Linked DNA regions of Homo sapiens: all the other regions are linked to region 3. Evidence: promoter capture Hi-C in 16 types of primary human blood cells and fetal thymus (Javierre and others, 2016). All regions are on one chromosome and are shown on one strand. Each heading gives the region's core, a stretch centred on a gene start or on the middle of the fragment in contact. The rest is flanking DNA. Distances are from core to core; before and after follow the strand shown.

What was found. Contacts are between HindIII fragments. The CHiCAGO score rates a contact against its expected background, and 5 or more counts as called.
Region 1: a contact is called between a fragment that was not itself captured here and the fragment with the promoter of FIP1L1 in region 3, in 7 of 17 cell types (total CD4 T cells, naive CD4 T cells, non-activated CD4 T cells and 4 more). The highest score is 8.8, in total CD4 T cells.
Region 2: a fragment that was not itself captured here is called in contact with the fragment with the promoter of FIP1L1 in region 3 in 9 of 17 cell types (total CD8 T cells, fetal thymus, naive CD4 T cells and 6 more); the score reaches 11.4 in total CD8 T cells.
Region 4: a fragment that was not itself captured here is called in contact with the fragment with the promoter of FIP1L1 in region 3 in 1 of 17 cell types (total CD4 T cells); the score reaches 5.1 in total CD4 T cells.
Region 5: a fragment that was not itself captured here is called in contact with the fragment with the promoter of FIP1L1 in region 3 in 1 of 17 cell types (monocytes); the score reaches 5.4 in monocytes.
Region 6: a fragment that was not itself captured here is called in contact with the fragment with the promoter of FIP1L1 in region 3 in 2 of 17 cell types (M2 macrophages and monocytes); the score reaches 5.6 in M2 macrophages.

The regions. Positions count from the first base shown.
Region 1 is chr4:52,721,811-52,724,510 of GRCh38, reverse strand. No RefSeq gene overlaps it. Among named protein-coding and RNA genes, the nearest start is that of SNORA26, 9.9 kb to the right of the region's middle. RefSeq lists an enhancer at 1,689-1,988 and silencers at 2,149-2,198, 2,379-2,518. The HindIII fragment of the contact is 6,089 bases long and covers 1-2,700 here.
Region 2 is chr4:54,016,597-54,019,296 of GRCh38, reverse strand. The region is part of intron 3 of CHIC2 (cysteine rich hydrophobic domain 2); the gene reads left to right. Among named protein-coding and RNA genes, the nearest start is that of CHIC2, 47 kb to the left of the region's middle. The HindIII fragment of the contact is 724 bases long and covers 1,064-1,787 here.
Region 3 is chr4:53,376,297-53,379,051 of GRCh38, reverse strand. FIP1L1 (factor interacting with PAPOLA and CPSF1) reads right to left here and starts at 1,411. Exons shown (of 18, transcript NM_030917.4): 1 at 1,129-1,411. The coding sequence starts at 1,213. LOC105377654 (a long non-coding RNA gene) reads left to right here and starts at 1,312. Exons shown (of 3, transcript XR_007058118.1): 1 at 1,312-1,393. RefSeq lists a silencer at 834-923 and enhancers at 596-1,144, 1,084-1,203, 1,254-1,343, 1,145-1,693. The HindIII fragment of the contact is 4,469 bases long and covers 78-2,755 here.
Region 4 is chr4:52,738,456-52,741,155 of GRCh38, reverse strand. No RefSeq gene overlaps it. Among named protein-coding and RNA genes, the nearest start is that of ERVMER34-1, 12 kb to the left of the region's middle. The HindIII fragment of the contact is 1,069 bases long and covers 796-1,864 here.
Region 5 is chr4:53,992,184-53,994,883 of GRCh38, reverse strand. No RefSeq gene overlaps it. Among named protein-coding and RNA genes, the nearest start is that of CHIC2, 71 kb to the left of the region's middle. The HindIII fragment of the contact is 1,209 bases long and covers 832-2,040 here.
Region 6 is chr4:53,918,131-53,920,830 of GRCh38, reverse strand. No RefSeq gene overlaps it. Among named protein-coding and RNA genes, the nearest start is that of CHIC2, 150 kb to the left of the region's middle. The HindIII fragment of the contact is 1,124 bases long and covers 814-1,937 here.

The sequences.
Region 1 (2,700 bases), core at 125-2,624, 650 kb after region 3:
TAACAGACACTTCATGAAGTTATTTCTTAATAGCCAATAAAGAGATGAAAAGGTGCTCAACTTCATTAATCATCAGGGAGCTGCAAATCAAAATCACCTGAAGCACAATTATCACCCACCAAAATGGCTAAAATGAAAAAAGATGGAAAATACCAAGTGTTGATGAGAATGTGGAACAACTGGAATACTCATATGTTGCTGATAAGTGTAAATTGGCTCAAACACTTTGAAAAACTGTTTTAAAATATTTAATATCTACTAAATTTGAACATGGTATATAACCTATGATCCAATAATTCCATTTGTAGGTATACACCGAACAGAAATGCAATCATCTTTTATCATGTTCATCAGAAGACGTTTATTACAATGTTCATAGCAGCAATATTTTTAATAGTTCCAAAATGTAGACTACTCCAATGCCTATCAACAATTGGTTGAATACATAAATTGTGGTATATTCACAAAATGGACTGCACTGCAGCATTCTCATGAGCAAACTGTGACTATACTCAAAATATGGATGAACCTCATGACCATCATAGTGAGTTAAAGAAACCAGACACAAAAAATCACATGTATATAATGCACAAACACAAGGATACTGCTCTATGCTGTTAGAAGTCAGGCTAGCGGTTACCTTTGGGTGAAAAGGAGTGGTTAGCTACCGGAAGGAAATACTTCTGGTGTACTGTTTCTTTCTTTCTTTCCTTTCTTTCCCTTCTTTTCTTTCCTTTCTTTCTCTTCGTTTCTTTCCCCTCCCTCCGTCCCTCCCTCCCTCCCTCCCTTCCTTCCTTCCTTCCCTCCCTTTCTTCCTTCCCTTTCTCTCTCTCTTTCTTTCTATTTCTTTTTTTCTTTTTTTTAATGTAGTATAGCTCTGTCACCCAGGCTGGAGTGCAGTGGCATGATCTCGCTCACTGCAACCTCCACCTCCCGGGTTCAAGCGATTCCCCTGCCTCAGCCTCCGGAGTAGCTAGGATTACAGACGTGTGCCACCACACCCAGCTAATTTTTGTATTTTTAGTAGAGACAGGGTTTCACCATGTAGGCCAGGCTGGTCTCAAACTCCTGACCTCAAGCGATCTGCCCACCTCGGCCTCCCAAAGTGCTGGGATTACAGGCATGAACCACCACGCCCCGCCATGTTCTGTTTCTTAAATTAGTTGTTGGTGGCAGGACTGTGATTAGTTTGTGAAATTTCAGCCGAATGTGCATTTTTGTGTACTCATCTGTGGTCATGTTATATTTCAATAAAAAGCAGTCTCTGCCAGAACCTACAGGCAATGAGGTGCCACAGAAGGAGTTGACATTTGAGAGGCTTGAGAAGGGTTTAAGAGACACAATCAGATTTGCATTAGGAAGATTAATCTTTGGCTTTGGAGGATGACCGGGAAAGGAGTTGGGAGCTATTTGTAGAACTAATCCAGGCAAGCAATTATGAAGGTCTGAATTAGAGCAAGGGAATAGGAATGAGGACAGGATACAGCTGATATTTAGGAAGTAAACATGACAGGACGTGAGCCGATCACTAAATCCTCCTGCTCATGTTTCCTTGCTTGAAAAATAAGGAATAACAGTACCTACTTCATTGGGACTAGTTTGATGATTTAATGAGGGGGAGTGGTTTTAGATTTATAAAATATATATATGCTTATTGTATACCATACCTAGACATAAGGTATTAATATTAGAAAGCTCTAAGAGAAATATCTTGATTTTGGCATTGTCCCTGCGACGCTGCCTTCTCCCTGCCTAGGATGGATCAGCGTGGGACACAGGGTAGAAGGCAGAGGTACAGAATACCACAGGACATGTCAGAACGTGGGCGTGAAACGGGCCCAAGGGACCACGGGTGAAGGTCTAGGACTCTTCCAGCAGCCTGAGCGCCAGCAGAAGGAACCAAAACTAACCCAGGCGTTTCCTCTCCTCCTCCCCAGCCTTTCGGCCGAGAAGCAGACCGGCGGAACGCGACGGGGATTCAGGCCTAGGGGTGGGCTTGAGGCCGGAAAAATGGCCAATGGAACGAGAGCTTCTCCGTGCTTAGCCAATTGCATGACCCCCCCCCCAGGACCGCCCCCATCCGGTGATTGGCAGACACGTCTCCCAGTGTTGTCGCGGCCTGCTAAGGCTCTCAGAACTCCCGCGAGGGTGCGGGTCTTCCTCCAGCGCTGGGCTACTTGGTCCCGCCCCTCAAGGTATTTCTGCTCCTTGTGTGCCAGGGACCCCGGTAGTCCTGCTCCTGCTCTGGACCTGGAGCCAGGAGGTGGCTGGGAGGTGGGCGCGGTGAGGAGGTCTGAGCAGCCGCAGGCTCTGGGCCGCTTCGCCTCGAATCCGGGACCCGCGGGACCCGCAGGACCCGTAGTGCCTGGGGCCGAGGTGGGCGCGGCCCGGGCTCTCATGCTTTCCCTCACGCGCACCTGCCTTTTCCGCGGGGCCCGGGGCGGCTCCCCTGCCAGTTGGCGGGAGTAACCCGTAGTAGTAAAGCGCGACTGGATTAGGCCCTGTGTATTGAAGGGTTTGCGATCTTGAAAGGAACATTTGCATTAAAAACAGTGGGCAAACTTGTTTGTGGTCCTGTTGGTAACACACTTTTAGGGGGTGCAGTACAGTATGTTACCATACTTGGGGGATTAGCCGCCGTAGTTAAATGGTGGGTTCCTGTTGTTCCCAGCCCATTTCTAGCTAATTTAAAGAGAGTTT
Region 2 (2,700 bases), core at 176-2,675, 640 kb before region 3:
AAAGGAATTTGTTTAAAAATCCTTTTGAGAAATCATATTCTAGTTTTTTTTTGTTTTTTGGTGAATCTAGGCTTTTCACGTAGCATAATACTGTGATATAATTATTTAATTTTCTGCACATCACTGGAATATAAAATTTCATATTAATCCAGAATGAGCAGAAGTGAATAATATAATTTCCTCTTAAGTTCTCTTATGTTAAAATAATTCATTTTAAATTATATATGGTTTCTCCCTAATAACTTACAGCTAAAGACATTGTTTTACTTAACAAATTCAATTTACACAGATGTCTAAAGATGAATAGCATTCTTATTTGAAAAATATAAGTTAAAAACAAGATTATGAATATATTCAAAACATTTTAGTTAAAGGTTAATTAATGCATTATAGATTTAAGAGTTTAAAATTTAAGTAGGGAATTGAACATTTGAAATTTTGCTTTCCCATTTTGTGATGGTATGAATAAATCCAATTCAAATACATTTTAATTATAGGTTTAAATAGGTGAACTTTTATAAATAGTTATTAGTGAGTATTCTGTACATTTTATTAGCATATCATAGCATATTTTTGTTCTAAAGACTGATAATACTATTTTATTGGGAAATATTAAGATAAACTTTGTTACAGTTTCTACACTTAACATTTTTTTTCTTTAGCTCTCAATACTCTAAAATTTATGAGATTTCCATTGGTTTTATTAGTAATGTCTAGAAAACCACTTCTTTGTAAAACCATGTTTTCAAACAATTGATTGTGATTAAATGAGTCATTGGGAATTAGGAAACTCTTAAGTAACCAGTGGTGGCAAAGTAGGAGATTAATACCTTAAAGATTTTCTAAATGGCTCTTTGCTGTCCTGGAAGACTAATTTATATCTAATGGCATTTAATTTGTTTATAGGGAATAATATTAATAATTTATTCCTAAGAAAGTTACAGTATTTAGGAAAAATTACAAAAATACATAATAATTCAAATTTGAATTTTCAGGAAATCTTAGTTTTCTATTGCAGTAATTGAGTTTGTCTAGGTGTATGTGTGCTTTGCTGTTATAAGCTTACTTTAGATGCTTCTTTGGAAGGTATGTCTTATTTGGGTATGTCTTATCTAATATTGCTGATTAATCATTACCATATTAGCCATTTTATGAATTACTGAGGCCCTTTTAGTTCTCTTTCCGTTTTCATGTTTTTCCTATTTTCACAATTCTACCAAAAATCTAAAAGGGACCAAAGGCAATATAAATAGAAGCCAAAATTTCTATTCTTATGTTACTACTACTTGTTGCTCAACTTAAGTCTGTTTAATACCTATTCAGTAATTGAAATGATATTTTTTAAATCTCCTGTTAATTTTTACTTTCACAAAGCTGAATGGCTGTATTAAAACTAGTTCACCAATGAGAAAAATATAACCACTAAGGTGTGGAAATGAAGAAATGTGTGTTTTGTTTTTGTTTTTGTTTTTGTTTTTTTAAAGAAAAAGGGTTATTTAAAGTGAGCTGAGGGAGATGGGTGGGATCCAGATGCTTGGAGCTGTCTACTTCCAGACCAGGTTAGTAACATGACGCCATTCACACAAAAAAGTTGTTTTTCCTGCATATTGTGAGTTGGTGGTCTTGGTCCTTTTAATTAAAGATAAGAATACTTGATAAAATTACATTTCTTGTTGATCATCTTTTGCAGAAAGACGGAGAATTACATTGGTAAAGAACCGCTAACCTGTCCCCTCACCCCCAGGGTGTGAGCAGTGAAAAGGATTAAGGCCCACTGTAGGGAAGCTTACACTAAAGCCTGCACTGCCCCTTCCCCTGTTCTTTCAGCTAAATAGATTTTTAGTTCCCATGACTATCAATCTGGTGCTTTTCACAAGCACTAAATTCTCTTAAAGAAAATTAAAGATGACTTATTTTTTTAGAAACTGGCCTGGAATACTGAAAGATGGTGTTTTTTGGTACTTTGTTTCATGTTGACAGATCCCATACATATTTTTTTCTGATGCATGTTAATTTGCTTCAGCTTGTTTTGAATTTGGAGTTGAAATAAACATTTAAAAACCAAGGACAGGTTGTTATATGATTAGATTTGCTTGTCCACAGTTAGCAAGTGTAGAGTTCGACACTGTTGAATCTTACATTTCATTAGAAATAGCTACCTGACAGCCTTGTGGACATAAACTCTTTAACTTTTATCTAGATGACTACAATTATAAAGTGCTTTCTTTTAAAAGCTTTTAAGTAGCTTTTATAAATGCTGAAGTGTCATTTTTTTTAGTATCTGCCAAATTGGTATTGTATTTAATCTTGAAAATATATTTTGATTTTCTTAACTAACAATAATTGCATAGTATTAAACATTCTCAGTAGCTCAACCTTTTTTTTTTCTATTTAATTTGAGCTTTTGTTGTTACTAACAAATAATTTGTGGCACAGTTTCTTTCCTTTTTTTTTTAAATGACTGCTAGAATCTATATACTTGTCACCTTAGTGTGCTAGAAATGTTCCACTCAAATCAAGGGTTCCTTTCTGGTTTTGTATGTTCTCACCTGCTCCTCACTGTAAATCATTGAGATGTCAAGTGCAATGATTAATTAAGCTGCACGTGCAAGTGCTTTTTTTTTCACCTGTCAAGCAGGAAAGAAGTCTTATAGCAAAATTAGATGGTGCTAATTCACAGCTTTTACTTCAGACTGTGAA
Region 3 (2,755 bases), core at 162-2,661:
GATCACCTTATAATTACTTAACAAGATACTTATTTTATGGAAAAAAAAATCAGACTTTACTGCTATAAAAATAAGCTTAAATTTAAGAGGTAATGAAGATTTCCAGATCTTTGTAAAAGAAATCCTACACATTCACATTTCAAAGAGTAGTAACTAATGCTAAATCTTGCCACCAAACGATTTTTTTTTACAAGTTTATCAAAGTCACATCATCAAGGACCTGCATGGTGCCCAAAGTGCACTTTTACTATTCTATTCTAAAGACAATCAAGAATATATGTTTTAGGCAAGGAACAAACATTAACTTTCAAATCTGGTGTTAACAAGCAAGAAGGGATTGTGACTTAAAGTTAAAAACCAGATGTCAAACAAGTACCCTTCTAGAGAGAAGTACATGATGCATTAAATTTATTTTGAGAAAAACAAATACATGAGATGACACTGAAAACTATAAGCCGAAGGGTCATGAGATACCTCCATGATGTAGGTTAAACGGTAGTCTCTTAAAAAAGAATAACTTCACCTTAATACAGGAGACATTCAGAGTTTTCTTTATGGGCCATCTTTCTCTCTCTCTCTCTTAATTAATTATTTTTAAAGCACGACTTTCAGACAAGGAGGTACCCTTGCAGGTGCATTCCATACAAACTGACCATCAAGAAACAAGACGTTAGTTGTACAGCATTAACTTTATTTAGCTATTATTACAGAATGACTGTTTCTGAAAGAAGGGACAGGAAGGGCACCCTAAGGCCACAGGGCAAAAACAGACACCAAAAACCACCACCTCAGAATCGACAGAAAAAAACAAGGGTAAAGAGCGCAGCAGCTAGGCGATCGAGACGCCTCGGGGAAAGCACAGCGAAGCCGGGGGCCAGGACCGGTCACAGCCCCCCAGCCCGGCCCGGCCGCCACAGGGGTGGATGCGCATGGTGGGCGTGGGCCAGGCGGGAGACCGCCGCGGGGACTGGGGGCACGCGCACGCCGCGCTCGGCCTAAGTCAGGCCGGACAGGACTCCCAACCAGAGGCCCGAAGCGGCGGCGCGAGAGGCCAGGGACGCCGGCCGTTTGAGGGCCAAGAGGGGAGGCCTGAGAGAACCCGAGAGACAGAGACAGGAAGTTTCGTACCGCCATAGAGCCACTCTTCCTCCTCATCCCCTCCGGTCCCGCCGCTCAGCTCCGACACTAGGCGCTCGACCTCGCCGGCCGACATGGCCGCCCCGAGCGCAACTTAAACGCGGCGATCAACAGCCCCCTCCAACCCCTTCCCCAGCCTCGCAGCCCCGAGGCGCGAGAAGGGCGCGAACCCGCCGACGAACGAACGAAGAAAGCTCGAGACTCCAATCCCAGGAAGGCGACGGCAGCGGCGGCAAAGATGAAGCCTCCAGCGCAGGTCCGTCTGCGCATGCGCAGGAGACCCAAGCGGCGCGGCGCGTATAGGTGGCTTCGCTTCCGCGGCGGCCACCTGGGCCTGGTTGCGCCTGCGCGCTGAGGTGGGCCCCGCCCCTCTAGGATCCCGGTTTGCTATTTTGCGTGGCTTCCTCCCGTGGCGTCCTGAGTCGGCCAGGGTTCCCCGCCCCCACCCTTCTTTTTAATAACCCGTATTGCCATTGCTGGCGAGTACACCATTGTTCCCTTCTACTCTTCGTGCTCTTTCTTCTCAACTTTTTATTTGTTTTTTAATCTTCAGAAAGGCCTTCTTTTATTCTTTAATCAGCCTTGATACAGAATCATTACCTGTCACTCCCTTTCCTCACTGAATAGAGAAGAAATCACAATCAGTACTATTTCTCAAAAAATTAATTTTCACAGCCAACAAAAGCAAAACTAATAGATGAAGAATGCACTCTCCTTGTTAAAAACCATAAATTACTGTCAAGGTCAAAGACCGCCTCATTCCCCTACCCTTCTCTCCGGAGGTAGCCCTTGCTACAGATGCATATCCTGTTTGGAGTTCATCATTCCGAAATTTCCTATACACTTACTTCATGTGTTGTGCTGTTTTGGTGGGAGAACCTGAGATTGACAAGTCTTAAATAGTACAGTACAGTATAGTATCATCCTTCGACTTCCTTTTTTTTCTTTTTTTTTAGCATCCGTGTCTTGGAGCTCTTTTTCATTTTAGTATGAATCAAACTATATCTATTTTAAGTGCTTCATAAAATTGCATAGTATGGCTATCACAGAGTGAATATGGCTATTTCTCCATTGATGTACACCCAGATTGCTTTTGACTTTACACTTTTAACTACAACAAAAAATGACAATGAAGATCCACACGGCTCCTTGCAGATTTGTCTGTTTCTCAAAGATAGATCATAAAGTATGTACAGTTTTTATTTTAATAGGTAAACCAAATGTTCAGGCCGCTTCTGAAAGCACATCTTCCAGTGAAAAGATGACATACCATGGTTCAAACTGGAGCTCTAGGTTTGTCTAGGTTTTTTGTTTGTTTGTTTATTTATTTGAGGCGGAGTCTCACTCTGTTGCCCAGCTGGAGTACAGTGGTGCGATCTCTGCTCACTGCAACCTCCACCTCCTGGGCTCAAGCGATTCTTCTGCCTCAGCCTCCCAAGTAGCTGGGATTACAGGCACGCACCACCATGCCCAGCCAATTTTTGTATTTATAGTAGAGAGGGGGTTTCACCATTTTGGCCAGGCTGGTTTTGAACTCCTGACCTCAGGTGATCTGCCCACCTTGGTGTCCCAAAGTGCTGGGCTTACAGGCATGAGCCACCACGCCCGGCCTGTTTTT
Region 4 (2,700 bases), core at 81-2,580, 640 kb after region 3:
CCTTTCCTTTCCTTTCTTTCTCTCTCTCTCTCTTTCTTTCTTTCCTTACTTTCTTTCTTTCTCTCTCTCTTTCTCTCTTTCTCTCATTCCTTCTTTCTTTCTTTCCTTTTTTTTTGACGGAGTTTCACTCATGTTGCCCAGGCTGGAGTGCAGTGGCACAATCTCAGCTCATCGCAACCTCTGCCTGCTGGGTTCAAGTGATCCTCCTGCCTCAGCCTCCTGAGTAGCAGGGATTACAGGCACGCACCACCATGCCCACCTAATTTTTTGTATTTTTAGTACAGACAGGGTTTCTCCATGCTGGTCAGGCTGGTCTCGAACTCCCAACCTCAGGTGATCCGCCCGCCTTGGCCTCCCAAAGTGCTGGGATTACAGGTGTGAGCCACCGCACCTGGCCTGGTCCTCATTTCACAATGTCAAGTACGAATACAAAGTGAAGAGGAAATATGAAATAAAGGGGCAGTCATTGGAATGTTAGAAAATGTCTTATTAAAAGGATAAAGTTTCATCAAATAGCATGACTGATTATGAGGTGTGTTAAGCTGCACAATATTTGATTAAAGTAAGGTTTGTAGGGCATGACAAGTTATAGAAAATAGTTTCAACATTACTGGTGATGGACACAAAGGTATTTCTGATTTTCAAAACTCATAGGGGAAAAAAATCCTCTTTCCATTGTTATGCATCAGAAGGAACACAAAATAGGTTGGTTGGCAAAAACATTTATTAGCCAGCTCAAAGGTTCACCAGATGTTTCACCTTCCTATTTCCTGATACATTTATTAATTAGAAGCTTACTTAAGGAAAATTGTTATCCAATATTTTTTATCAGTGTGGACTCATGGATATATACATTGTTCTTTGGGTTGTAATCCAGTACTATCATACTGTTGCTCAAAGTGTTGCAGCTTTGGCCTTTGAGAGCTCTTGGAAAATTTGTTCCTGTTTCCTTTTGACATGCCTCTCCCTATGTGTTTTTTGTTTGTTTGGCCTTATTTTTTTTTTTTCAGCACTTCCTTACTCTCCAGCGCTCCAATATGCTGCAAGCTCATCTTTTATTTTTCCTGCCCAGCCCTAGAATCAGTGATTTTTTTTTCCCAAGAAACCATTGTTCCCTGTACTGAAAAATGGTTTTAGAAACCAAGATCTGGGCACAAGATGTGCTCATTGCTACTGCTACTAGGTTATCACTGTGTAGGCCCCCTCAGTGGACACAGCTAGGAAATGTTTGTATGTATACACAGATACCTATACATATATACCTACAGTTTATTGAAATAAACGAGTTTATACTGATATCTCCAACTCTCAGCACCACAGGATTCATTCTAGCCTCACCTTACCCCTTGCTTATTTGTAACTTTTCTGTTGCTGAGAAACCTGTCTCCTATTAGCTAAGATTTATTTGCTTATTTGTTAAACTCTACTATATGTGTAAACTAGTTACATAACATAGTTACATAATTGCTAACCTGTCCCTTTATGAGAAACAAAGTAACCAATTAGAATACAGCGTTTGCTTTTTTGTCTTTGGCTTTGCAGTATTCAGTCAAGACATCGTTTTCAAAAGTTAAATCGTCTCCTCAATTTATATATAGGTATATACACATATGTGTATATATATTCACTTCTTTAAAAGTTAACCCATCATTATTGGCATCTAGAGAATCTACATACAAAGTACAAGCAACAAGAAAATGCTAAATTCACTTAAATCATGAAAAGTAATTGGGCTAGGCTCCTCATACAATTCTAATGATAGTTACACAGATGGACTACTGAAGAACAAATACTTTTTATTCTTTTGATTGTTATCTATGACTTTATACAAGATATATGTTTTTTAATTTCTCCACAGAAAGCTTCAGAAGATGAGTATTTAAATGTAGCCATCTTAACCAGCAATCAGTACTACCACAAGGAATATTTCAGGGGTGGCAACAACCCTGTGATAATCCTGCAGCATGGGTCGATTTGCTTTCAAAACCTAGAGGTGTACAAAGTCAAAGGTGAAGAAAATGTGCATTTGCTGTTAAGAAAATATTATGATATACAGTAATTACAACTGTGAGGGAATATATGCAATAAAAATAATTGTTTGGGAGGAAATGTGGATGATTTTTTTTTCTGTTTTCCAAACGAAAGCCTTAGGACATAACACTTTTTGAGTGAGATCTTTGTGGTGACATAATAATTCTATATCTGAGTTGTGATGGTTCCATGAATTTACACATGACAAAATGACACAGAATGATGTAATATTGGCACACACAGCTCAATGTCAATTTTCTAGTTTTGTTTTTGTGCTATAGTGACTTCCACTTGGGAGAATTTGGGTGAAGGCTACGTGGAATCTCTCTGCACTGTTTTTTTTTAAATATATAATTCAGAGTAAAAAGCTTTAAAAAGTAATAGTATTTTACATCCTCAAATTAAACAGATGTGTAAATATATACATATATAGTTTATGTATGTTAAACCTAGTTGCCTTTTTTAATGAGTTTTTTTTCTGTATTAAACTATCCTTCAGAAAGGTTGAAGCAAATGTACCATGTATAATAGGATATTTAAAATTTCATTTTCATTGGCAGAGTAATTTCACAGGAAATGTATCTTAAGGAAATACTCTGCCCTTTCATACCTTCTGTCTTCCTAATAATTTCTACAAAGATATTCAAAAAACCCTTTTGCCAAATAAAT
Region 5 (2,700 bases), core at 187-2,686, 620 kb before region 3:
TGAACTTACATTGCTGGTTGAGAAGCACACATCCAAAAAATCCAGTTATCTTCTGATCCACAATAAATTTTTGGAAAATAATCTGAAAACCAATTGTCCTCCATTATGACTAATGCACAATTTATTAAACTTAGATTTTTTGAGTGCAGTAACAGAACTAGAAATGTGTTGCTGTGTTACTCTGTTCTTGTACTGCTATAAAGAAGTACCTGAGACTGGGTAATTCATAAAGAAAAGAGGTTTAATTGACTCATAGTTCCACAGGCTGTACGGGAAGCATGACGGCTTCTGCTTGGCTTTTGGGGAGGCCTCAGGAAACTTATGGCAGAAGGCAAAGGGGAAGCAGGCACTTCCTACATGGCGAGAGCAGGAGGAAGAGAGAATGAAGGGGGAGGTACTACACATTTTTATAAACAACCAGATCTTGTGAGAACTCACTATTACCAGAATAGCAAGGGAAAAATCTGCCCCCATGATCCAGTCACCTCCCACAAAGCCCCTCTTCTAACATTGGGGATTACAGTTCAACACGAGATTTGTGGGGGAACACAGACCCAAACCATACCAATTACTAAAGAAATGGGAGACATTTGAATTTGGTGAAGAAATGGTCTAAGGTCTAAGCTTGGCCCAACCTCGGGCATCATGCCAAGTATAAAGGATAGCAAAGAGAATAATGCCTTTTGGTTTCTAAAGAGTTGAGGCTGGAGGAATAAGCATGTAACATGGTATGAAAAGTGCTAATAATCAAGGAAAGTAAGTGATAGGGTGGATCTTCAAAGGAGCAATATATTTGGGGTGGAAAGGTCATAGGTTGCATGGGTTGAAGCTTAACACATGAAAAGGCTGTGTTAAAAAAGTACTGATGATTTCTGTATGATTGGAAAATATGGGGAGATGGTCTGGTACAAAATACCTGTTTAATGAATTGTGCAGAAGCATCAAGAGATAAGGTCAGGAAAGGGAGAAGGGACAAGTGTATCATGCTGAAATTTTTTTGACTCTAGCCTGAAGCTATTGAAAGATTTTGAGAATGTGAGTGGACCTGGTCAAATCTGTCATTGATGAAGCTCATTCTGACCCTGAAATAAGCCAAAATTAGCAAGCTCCAATGTTAATTTGTTTTAACCTGTAAAGCTAGCAAGTAAAAATTCCTTAAATAAAGAACTCAACTGTTTCACTGTTTAGCAATGAGACCAAAGAGTATGTAAGATCGAAGGAATAGAGGTATAGAAAGACTGTTTTGCCCTTTGTTAAACTGAAAGACTAGCCTACTAACAATTCTAAATAATTATCTGGAACATTATCAGGGAATCTCACTGGGGTCAGACTGGAATCTAATTCTGGTTCTGCCACTCTCCAGCTGTGTGGCTTTGGAAATGTTACTTAACAGCTCTGTGCCTCCATTTCCTCATTTGTAAAATGGATTTGTTAATAGTACCTGTTTCAAGAAGTACTTATGAGGATTACACAATATAATGCATATATTCCACTGGTAATGCCACTCAACACAGGAGACCACTAGGAACACACAAGGAGTTGAACAAAGTTGGGTTTTTTTGTTTGTTGAAACTAGAGATACATTGTAGGGATTCCTGAGTGCTGGAAAGGCCTTCTTTCAGGATTTGGGCTTGTGATGAGTGATTTGGGAAGGATTCAAGCAAGAGTTTGCACTGGATTTCGATTCTGTAAGGAAGTGGGGTAATTTTATGATTGGTCTGAATAGATCTCATTTAGGAGGTGGGAGACACGAAGCTAAGTGAAAGCCGTAATTTGTAAAGAAGCAGCAGTCACTCATATTTAGTATTTTGTGCTTTGCACTGCGACTTTGTTTTTGTCTTATTACACAAGATGTGAAGAGGTCTTTTCTGTTTCATCATGGTCACAGAGTAACCTTGACTGATGGTCTTCTGTGAGATTGTTTATGTTCAACAGGAGAACACCAAGGCCTAGCTGGTAATAACAAGCCAAGTCCTGGATGCCAAGGGCTGCTTTTCTCTTTCTGTCACTTAGCACAATGCCTGGCATAAAGTTAAAGCTTAAGAAGTATCCTAAGGAACAATTCTAAAAGAATTGAGCCCAACTCTCACATGCATTCTGACCCTAAAATAAAGGCCAGTTTGGTCCATTTTTGAGATTAATATGACAGTGTTGTTTCAACTTCATTGGTCAGTACCTTCTTATTCCTTTTCTATATGGATAGATTTGCCTTATATTTTAGATGTTTACTTTGAGTTTGTATTTTTCGTATTCAAAACAGTTAAATCAGAATGTTAAACTTCTAACAACAGATTCTCTTTGAACATTTTTACAAAAGTTTAAAAGTTTTAAAAATCTGTTTTCAACATCTCCCTAGGTCAGTCTTCACAGTGTTTATCACAACTGAACATAAATATTAAGTTTAGTTATTTGTAAAATATCTGTTTCTCCTGCTATACCATGAAAGCAGGTTCTTATCAGCCTTGCTATTATATCTTAGCGCCCAGTATGTGCCTGGCACAGACTGTTTTGAAGAAATGATTGTTGAGTAACTGAACGAGGAAGAGAAATTGTACTTGGAAAGTGGAGTTGAAAACTAACATGTATTGAGTGACTGTTCAATGCCAGGTCCTATTTTAGGCACTATACAAAAATTATAATTAAGTCCTCTCAGAAATTCTGTAAAGGAATTATTGACTTAAGTTCAGCGACTTACCCTTC
Region 6 (2,700 bases), core at 126-2,625, 540 kb before region 3:
TTTTTCCAAGAAATATTTTACCATTATATTTTAATACTATATATAAAACATCAGGCACAAGAGAGCCCTTCAAAAGAAAAAGCAGAGCGTGCCTGAAGAAAATGCTTCTACAATGGTCTTTATCTCATACAGCTGAATATAATTTTCCCCCAGATGTTACTCTAGTCACTTATTAAATTAATCTTTCCTGTTTTAATACCTATAGAAACTGCACCAAAATCTGAGCTGTTCAAAGGGATCTGCAAACCAGGTAGCTGATACATTTGTAAACATTCCCTTTGACCTGTTTGATCTTCATATCTTCATTCACAACCACACTAATTGAGCTGATTGAGGGCAATGTCATTGGGTCTTTTGCATATTCAAATTTTCCAGCCTCCTCTTTCTGGATGTGAATGAGGTTCAGAAGAATGGGTGGGAGAGGCCCAACTGACTCAGCCAGAAATACCGGGTTGGCCCTTTCCTGGGGCAAGCAGTGAGGACAGCACTGAGTGGCTTAAATGAGTGTTTATCCCAGCTGCCGCCCGCCCCAGCTAGGAAGGAAGTCCTTACCATCTGGGCACAGTTGCTTTGGGCTACTTGGAGTGTGGAAGGAGACACTCTGCTTCCTCTAAAGCCCTTTAACAATGTTGCGGACCAAAGCTTCATGATTTTTCAAGAGGAAAAGTCCTTGACAGGCTCCCAGGACTCAAATCTTCTATTCCTGAGAGATCTATCACTGGCGGTGGGGGGCTCAGCCCCCTGGAGCCAGTTCTCCTCCCTATACTAAGGTGGCGGAGAGTCTCCTAAATAGAACAGAGGTGCTAATAAGCTTTGGGGAAGAAACAAACAGAAGAAGCTCAAAAAGTACAGAAACTGTCAAAGTGGATATTTTAAAAGCCTCCCACTGGAGCTCGTCTCCTGTGTTCCCTCGGAACTGTGAAACTTTTAAAATGTTGAAATCATTAGCCCTATTATTGTGTCAGTCTGCCACATTCACTTCCATCTTTCCATTTCTATCCACCCACCAGCCACCCCGCCTCTCCCAGCAAGCTGAATTACACCACATTCAAATCTTCTGCAATGGAACTCCCTAAAATATGCTCTTTTTTCAAAATATGTTTACATTCAAGTCACTCAAGTGCTACATTGCTGAGTCAAAGACTTCAGACATTTTAAGGAAGGATAGAGAAATAGGAGACTAGGGCCTGTGGTCTAGTGTTCTGTAGTATTCTAACTCTTTATCCTCTTCTCCCAGTCCCCAATCTCACCCCTTATCTATGGTCTTTGGCTGTTCTGTTTTTTTGTTTTTTTTGGGTTTTTTTTTTTGAGTTTTGTGCTTGTTGCCCAGACTAGAGTGCAATGGCATGATCTTGGCTCACTGCAACCTCTGCCTCCTGGATTCAAGTGATTCTTCTCCTCAGCCTCCCAAGTGGCTGGTATTACAGGACTGTGCCTTCATGCCTGGCTAAGTTTGTATCTCTAGTAGAGATGAGGTTTCACCATGTTGGCCAGGTTGGTCTCGAACTCCTGACCTCAGGTGATTCGTCCACCTCAGCCTCCCAAAGTGTTGGGATTATAGGCATGAGCCACGACGCCCAGCCGTCTTTGGCTGTTCTTTGATGTAAGGAGGCAAGAGCCTGGATTGGTGGTGCATGCCTGTAGTCCCAGCTACTTGGGAGGCTGAGATGGGAGGATTGCTTGAGCCCAGACATTTGAGGCTGCAGTGAGCTATGATGGCACCACTGCACTCCATCTTGGGTGAAAGAGCAAGACTTTGTCTCAAGAAAAAAGAAAAAAGAAAGAAAGAAATGAAGGAAGAAAAAAGGAGTCAAGAGGAACAAAGATCAAGCCTGTGTAACTCAGTCATACGATGGAACCAAAGTACCAGGAGCAAAAAGGTAGAAACACTGAGTTTTGCTGATGCTAAGTTGGAACCGCAAAGAGACCTCAAAGCTTTTCCCGACTTTGACCCTTCCTCTTCTCTCCTGAGCACAGCCTCCAGCCACCCTTGGTTCTCCTGAGGTCATGCCCAGCTCTGAGAGGATCAGTGGTTGGTGGCTCAGAAGGGCCAAGGCTTTGGAGCCAACCTGACCTTGGCTTCAAGTCTAGCACCTGTGGAACCTTGGTCAGGTCCCTTTCCAGCTCTGGGCTCAGTTTTCTCATGGGAATAATGGTAGCAATATCTACCTTACAGGGTTTATGTAAGGATTACTTGACAAATGTATGCGTGTGCATTTAAAAAAATTGAAATGAAATTCACATAGTATAAAATTAACCACTTTAAAGTGAACAATTAAGTGGCACTAAGTACATTTGCAATGTTGTGCAACCCACCATTTCTATCTGTTTTCCTCACTCCAAAATAAAAACCCATCTGCACTCATTATGCAGCCACTCTCCACTCTTCTTCCCACCATCCTGGCAACCAGCAATCTGCATTCTGTCTCTACAGATTTACTTATTCTGGACATTTCCTATAAGTAGAATCACATGATATTTGTCCTTCTGTGTCTGGCTTCTTTCACTTGGCATACCGTTTTGAGGCTCTACTTATTGTTGTATGTATCATTACTTCGTTCTTCTTTACCGGCTGAATTAATATTCCATTGTGTGTAAGCACCACAATTTGTTTACCCATTCATCTTTTGATGGGCGTTTGGGTTGTTTCTACCTTTGGGCTATTGTGAATAGTGCTGCTATGAATATTCAAGTGTATGT